Regions from separate parts of the Homo sapiens genome. Here region 1 is linked to region 2. Evidence: promoter capture Hi-C in 16 types of primary human blood cells and fetal thymus (Javierre and others, 2016). All regions are on one chromosome and are shown on one strand. Each heading gives the region's core, a stretch centred on a gene start or on the middle of the fragment in contact. The rest is flanking DNA. Distances are from core to core; before and after follow the strand shown.

Region 1 (3,167 bases), core at 399-2,898, 1.3 Mb after region 2:
TAGAGAAATAAGACAAGCTTTCAAGAAATTGGCATTGAAGTTACATCCTGATAAAAACCCGGTAGGTAAACGTTTGTTTTTAAAAATATTTGATTATATTTTTGGTACATTTTGATATTTATTTAAATTGCTTTAAATGATCAAATGCTTAAGAATAATCATATGTCAAAATTATAATTCAACTTGTATGCTAGAAACAAAAGCACCAAAATGTTCTGGATTATTTAGGATCCCGTGAAGGAATGTCAGTACCAAAAATTCAGTTCCCTCTTAATTTGTAGACGATTTTCCAACAATTCTATTAAAGACATTAACCCCAAAACAAACGATAATATCCGTGAAGTAGTTGAAGTAGTTTTCTTATTAAAGTAGGTTAAGATCAAGTGTTTTAGAACAGGAACAAAAATATTTTTTTAAAACTCAGAGGGTATGACTTGCTAAAAATAGAAGTAATAGCTAATAATAGCATGTTTTAACTTTGACTGTTTTCTTCTGTGTATGCACAAGTCCACAAACCAGAGTTAGAAAGTTTTATAAATTAATACTTCACAGCAGCTGAATATAATGCCAGTCATAAATATTTATGTACACATTAATGTAAATCTTTCAAAACTAAACTCATTTTAATTTTTATGGTGTTTTTGTAATTTATTTGATTATTTCTTAGTGAGATTTAGCGTTCATCATTAACAAGAAGACATAGTTATAATTTTCTCTTTTCTAGGTAGAAGTTTTAAAATAGGATTATTTTCATTGCATAAAGCTGAGCAAGAGAAACAATATTTCTTTAAATATTGTTTAGTTGATTATCTTTTCCTAAGATCCACATTCTATTTAAGGTTTTTATTTTTTTTTAATTTTTCTTTAAAATTTCAAATAATGATTTTTAAGTTTCCATATAAAAGACAGTAGACCTTCTACCATCCGAGTATTATTTAAATGAAAGCATCCTTCAGAAACAAATTTTATGAAGCACAGTAACAAGGAAGAAACATTTCCGATCCAATTTTGGATTGTTTTCTTTTTTTTTTTTTTTTTTTTTTTGAGATAGGGTCTCACTCTCTTGCCCAGACTGGAGTGCAGTGACGCCAGCGGCTTCCTGCAACTTCTGCATCACAGGCTTAAGCAATTCCCCTGCCTCACCCTCCTGAGTAGCTGGGATTACAGGCGTGCGTCACTACTGCCCAGCTAGTTTTTGTGTTTTTAGTAGAAACGGGGCTTCACCATGTTGGCCAGGCTGGTCTCGATCTCCTGACCTCAAATGATCCACCCTCCTCAGTCTCCCAAAGTACTGGGATCGATTTTGGGGTGTTTTCTGATACTGGCTTTTATGTAATTAGCTGATAGATTGGGGCACATCCTTTTTTAATTAAGTTGATTTTACCTCAAATAGAAAAATAACCTACAAATGTATTGATTTATAATTGTTATAGGAGTAAAAAATATTTATGAAATTAAGAGTTTCAACAGGCTTATTATTTTCAGCTGCATTTTTTAGGAAGAATAACTCATGGTCTGATAACGTCTGTCAACCTTTTGAAGAGTCAATTATTTCATTACTTTTCTTACTTTTTTTTTTTTTTTTTTGAAGATTATAGTTTCTTAAAAAATACTTCATTTCAACCCATGGTAACTCATGTCATGTTGTATTACCCCTCCTTATGTTGGTATATGGTCTCCCAGAAGTTACTAGATTAATTAAACCTACATATATGTTTTGAAGAAACTTGGATTGTGTATCTGAAATAATTGTATTATATCTAATATTTTTTAACAGAATAACCCAAATGCACATGGCGATTTTTTAAAAATAAATAGAGCATATGAAGTACTCAAAGATGAAGATCTACGGAAAAAGTATGACAAATATGGAGAAAAGGGACTTGAGGATAATCAAGGTGGCCAGTATGAAAGCTGGAACTATTATCGTTATGATTTTGGTAAGGTGATACGATATTACTTATGAAATGTGTTTTATCTGAGTAAAAGAAAAGTGAATTCTGTTTCACCACTTAGCTTATATATTTAAGATGCGTCACTTTGATTAGCTCCTTTTAATTTGCTGTGGGAGTGAAATTTAAAAGGAATGTCAGTTGGTATACAGAGATGATCTGTACAGATATGAAGTTGTATTGGTTAAATCTTGTTAAATACTTTTAAAATAAGGATTGCTATTTAATAAAAAATATGCATTCATGGACTGCATAATGACATTTCACTTAACAATGGATTGTATGTAGGACATTGGTCCCATGAAATTATAATACCATATTTTTACTGTACCTTTTCTATATTTAAATACAAAGATACTTAGCATTGTGTTACAGTTGCCTATGGTATTCAGCAGTAACATGCTGTACAGATTTGTAGACTAGGTGTGTAGTAAGCTATACTATCTAGGTTTGTGTAAGTACACTCTGTGATGTTTTTGCAACAACAAAATTCCCTAACAACACATTTCTCAGAATGTGTCCCATTAGTAAGTGATGTATGACTATATGTTTGCATTAGGGGTAGCTAAATATTTCTTTCAGTATTTTTTAGTATTGAATAATATTAATTTCTTTCAATATATTTTAGAGCATCATATTGTCCAAGAAAGGCGAAACTTCAAGTTTAGTAATGATCTCTTCAATAGAAATGCCGTCCTTCTCATATGGAACCCTTACTGATTTTTAAGGTGTTTTGGCCTTCGGTTGACATTAAGGTCAATACCTTGAAACATTATCAATAAAGGTTCCATATGAGAAGGACGAAAGGTGTTTTTTTTCTTAAACATGGAGGAAAAAATAAGGTGGAAGGAGGAAACAAAGTAAAGGAACTAAGGAAGAGAGATTGTAAACACACAGGTATCAAGGGAGGAAGGTGTGTTCAGAGACCCAGTGTTTCTCCTAGTCATTAATTAACCTCAAATGCAGGCTAAGAACTGAATATGCTTCTGTATTAGACTAAATGAAGTATTTTAAATTTATATCTGGAGGATTTGCTTTTAGTAAATATGATTTTTTTTCAAAATAGTATTTTCAAGTATATTCTCTACACCTTGATAGTCTATATCAAGAGTTAGCAGACTGCATTTCATAGGCCAAATCTGGCTTGCCATTTGCTTTTATAAATAAGTTTTATTGGAATGGAATTACTTTAATTTGTTTACATAATATATGTGA
Region 2 (3,264 bases), core at 525-3,024:
TTCCATAAACATCTCAAACTCCACATGGCTAAAACTTAACCCATCCATGCCCCCATCTGCATGCACACATACATGCATATAACTTCATTTCTCAGTGTTTTTTTCTCCATGAATGGTAGCACCATTCTCTTTCAAGAAAGAGAAATACTTCCCCTTGGGATTATCCTATCTCTACTTATTGCTGCAGGGGCTTCCAAAATTAGGTTTTCTGTGTTCAGTCTTGCATTCACACTTCTGAAACCCAGAGCTGACCGAGACAAATTCTTCAACTTCCTGTCAGTCCCAACATAGATTTAAAATTCCTAACCTGGCTCATGAGGTTCACCATGTATTCCTGCTTCCCTAAGTCAGCCTCATATCACACCAACCTGTGTGTGGAGTGGCTAAATACTCTAGCCAGGCAAGCTCTCTCAGTTCTTCTACCTGGCTCCTCTGGAGCCCTCCTTATTGCTCATCCCATTCTTAGCCTGATTCAAGATTCCTGGTCCTTCAAATCTCTCTTTAAGTGTCCTTACCTGGATCTTTCTCTAGTTAGTACAAATTTTTCTATCTACCATTGGAGCGAACATTTTTTGAAACTTTGTATCAGTCCTGCCTTACTCTTGGTGGAATCCTGTGGTCCTAGTCAAGTGCCTGCTCCATGAATGTGCTGAATAAATGAATAAGCATTTTAATTGTGTATCTGTCATTAGTGTCAGATGTGTTATTTATTCCAGCATGGTTTTAGCACACAGACACACTCTTTGATGCAGACTTTTCTTTTCTTTTTACATATAGCAACAATAAAAAACTAGACTTTCATCTCCTGAAAATATCAGTCTAATAATCACCTATGGCTGTCTCTCTGGTTGCTGAAGGAAAAAAAAAAAAAAGGCAGGGCACACCTGGATTGCATTAGAATGAGACTCACTACCCAGTTCAGGTGTGTTGCGTTGTGGGTCTCCGGCACATTTCAGAGGCTCATTAGGACCCTGACCCCACACTGGGGTTTACACCCCTAAAAGCAGGTGTGTCCCGTGGCAACTGAGTGGGTGCGTGAAAAGGGGGGATCATCAATTACCAGCTGGAGCAATCCGAATCGGTTAAAGTGAATCAAGTCACAGTGCTTCCTTAACCCAACCTCTCTGTTGGGGTCAGCCACAGCCTAAACCGCCTGCCGTTCAGCCTGAGAGGCTGCTGCTAGCCTGCTCACGCATGCAGCCCGGGCTGCAGAGGAAGTGTGGGGAGGAAGGAAGTGGGTATAGAAGGGTGCTGAGATGTGGGTCTTGAAGAGAATAGCCATAACGTCTTTGTCACTAAAATGTTCCCCAGGGGCCTTCGGCGAGTCTTTTTGTTTGGTTTTTTGTTTTTAATCTGTGGCTCTTGATAATTTATCTAGTGGTTGCCTACACCTGAAAAACAAGACACAGTGTTTAACTATCAACGAAAGAACTGGACGGCTCCCCGCCGCAGTCCCACTCCCCGAGTTTGTGGCTGGCATTTGGGCCACGCCGGGCTGGGCGGTCACAGCGAGGGGCGCGCAGTTTGGGGTCACACAGCTCCGCTTCTAGGCCCCAACCACCGTTAAAAGGGGAAGCCCGTGCCCCATCAGGTCCGCTCTTGCTGAGCCCAGAGCCATCCCGCGCTCTGCGGGCTGGGAGGCCCGGGCCAGGACGCGAGTCCTGCGCAGCCGAGGTTCCCCAGCGCCCCCTGCAGCCGCGCGTAGGCAGAGACGGAGCCCGGCCCTGCGCCTCCGCACCACGCCCGGGACCCCACCCAGCGGCCCGTACCCGGAGAAGCAGCGCGAGCACCCGAAGCTCCCGGCTGGCGGCAGAAACCGGGAGTGGGGCCGGGCGAGTGCGCGGCATCCCAGGCCGGCCCGAACGCTCCGCCCGCGGTGGGCCGACTTCCCCTCCTCTTCCCTCTCTCCTTCCTTTAGCCCGCTGGCGCCGGACACGCTGCGCCTCATCTCTTGGGGCGTTCTTCCCCGTTGGCCAACCGTCGCATCCCGTGCAACTTTGGGGTAGTGGCCGTTTAGTGTTGAATGTTCCCCACCGAGAGCGCATGGCTTGGGAAGCGAGGCGCGAACCCGGCCCCCGAAGGGCCGCCGTCCGGGAGACGGTGATGCTGTTGCTGTGCCTGGGGGTCCCGACCGGCCGCCCCTACAACGTGGACACTGAGAGCGCGCTGCTTTACCAGGGCCCCCACAACACGCTGTTCGGCTACTCGGTCGTGCTGCACAGCCACGGGGCGAACCGATGGTGAGTAGAGTTGGACTGATGCGCCCTCAGCAGCTCAGAGCGGCGTGAGAATGGCGCCCTAGGGATTCCCTGCCCGATTCAAACTTTCCTCCCTCCCAAGGAGGCAGGAGGGAAACGCTGCGAGAGCCAGCTCGCTGGAAATCTGCCAGGGAAACTAACTTATCTTGGGGCGGCAGCGCCCCGGGTGCGTTATGGTGCAAGGTCTTGGAGCTTCGAGTCGGGGGTGGTGGGCGGAGGAGGAGGTGGGGAAGCTGCCCTGCTGCGGACTGCACATCTGTGGCGACAGGGAGCTCAGTGGGCAGCACAGCTCACGTCTGAGCGCACGTGCACGTGTCTCGCTTTAGGCTCCTAGTGGGTGCGCCCACTGCCAACTGGCTCGCCAACGCTTCAGTGATCAATCCCGGGGCGATTTACAGATGCAGGATCGGAAAGAATCCCGGCCAGACGTGCGAACAGCTCCAGCTGGGTGAGTTGGGTATGGGACCAGGAGTTAGTGACCTCCCGACCCCCCATGTGGACCCCACCATAGGGCAAGTCCTGGAAAGATTCACGTTGCCTGTTACTTCTGGTTTAAAGAGCATAAAGTTTTCAGTTTCAACTCCATCTCATCTTGCCTCCTTAATATAAAAGGGATTCCCTTTCTGTTAATATCGTTCTCCCTTTTCCTTATGGCAATGATTGCAGTACTCTGACAACTATGCTAGAGAAATTTCTTATGATACCTTCTCTTCATCTCTCCCCGTCTCTCCGTGTGTAAAGCACATTTTAGACTCTCTCAGCGTATTAAGGACAGGATCCAGCTAAGCCAAGACTTGAGAATTTTATTTCCATCTTTGACCTATCAACCCTCTTAAAGAACAGGCTAAGGAGCATATCAGGAATAGCAATTGGAATTGATCCCATATCCCGTCGTTTAACCTAAAGGCCTAAAAAAAAAAGTGATAGTTTTACTTACAATATACAATCTAAAAGAAAAGGAAAATTGGCATCTTCATCGTTAATGTAGTATAATTTTCCATTCCCA

Evidence for each region. The method cuts DNA at HindIII sites, captures the fragments that hold promoters and counts their contacts. A CHiCAGO score of 5 or more calls a contact.
Region 1: a fragment that was not itself captured here is called in contact with the fragment with the promoter of ITGA4 in region 2 in 1 of 17 cell types (total B cells); the score reaches 5.7 in total B cells.

What each region holds. Positions count from the first base shown.
Region 1 is chr2:182,718,230-182,721,396 of GRCh38, forward strand. DNAJC10 (DnaJ heat shock protein family (Hsp40) member C10) reads left to right here. Exons shown (of 24, transcript NM_018981.4): 3 at 1-61; 4 at 1,778-1,940. Among named protein-coding and RNA genes, the nearest start is that of DNAJC10, 3.6 kb to the left of the region's middle. The HindIII fragment of the contact is 3,267 bases long and covers 16-3,167 here.
Region 2 is chr2:181,455,612-181,458,875 of GRCh38, forward strand. ITGA4 (integrin subunit alpha 4) reads left to right here and starts at 1,775. Exons shown (of 28, transcript NM_000885.6): 1 at 1,775-2,240; 2 at 2,585-2,706. The coding sequence starts at 2,044. RefSeq lists enhancers at 1,282-1,391, 2,112-2,301, 2,362-2,411, 2,772-2,821 and a silencer at 1,572-1,961. The HindIII fragment of the contact is 9,740 bases long and covers 1-3,264 here.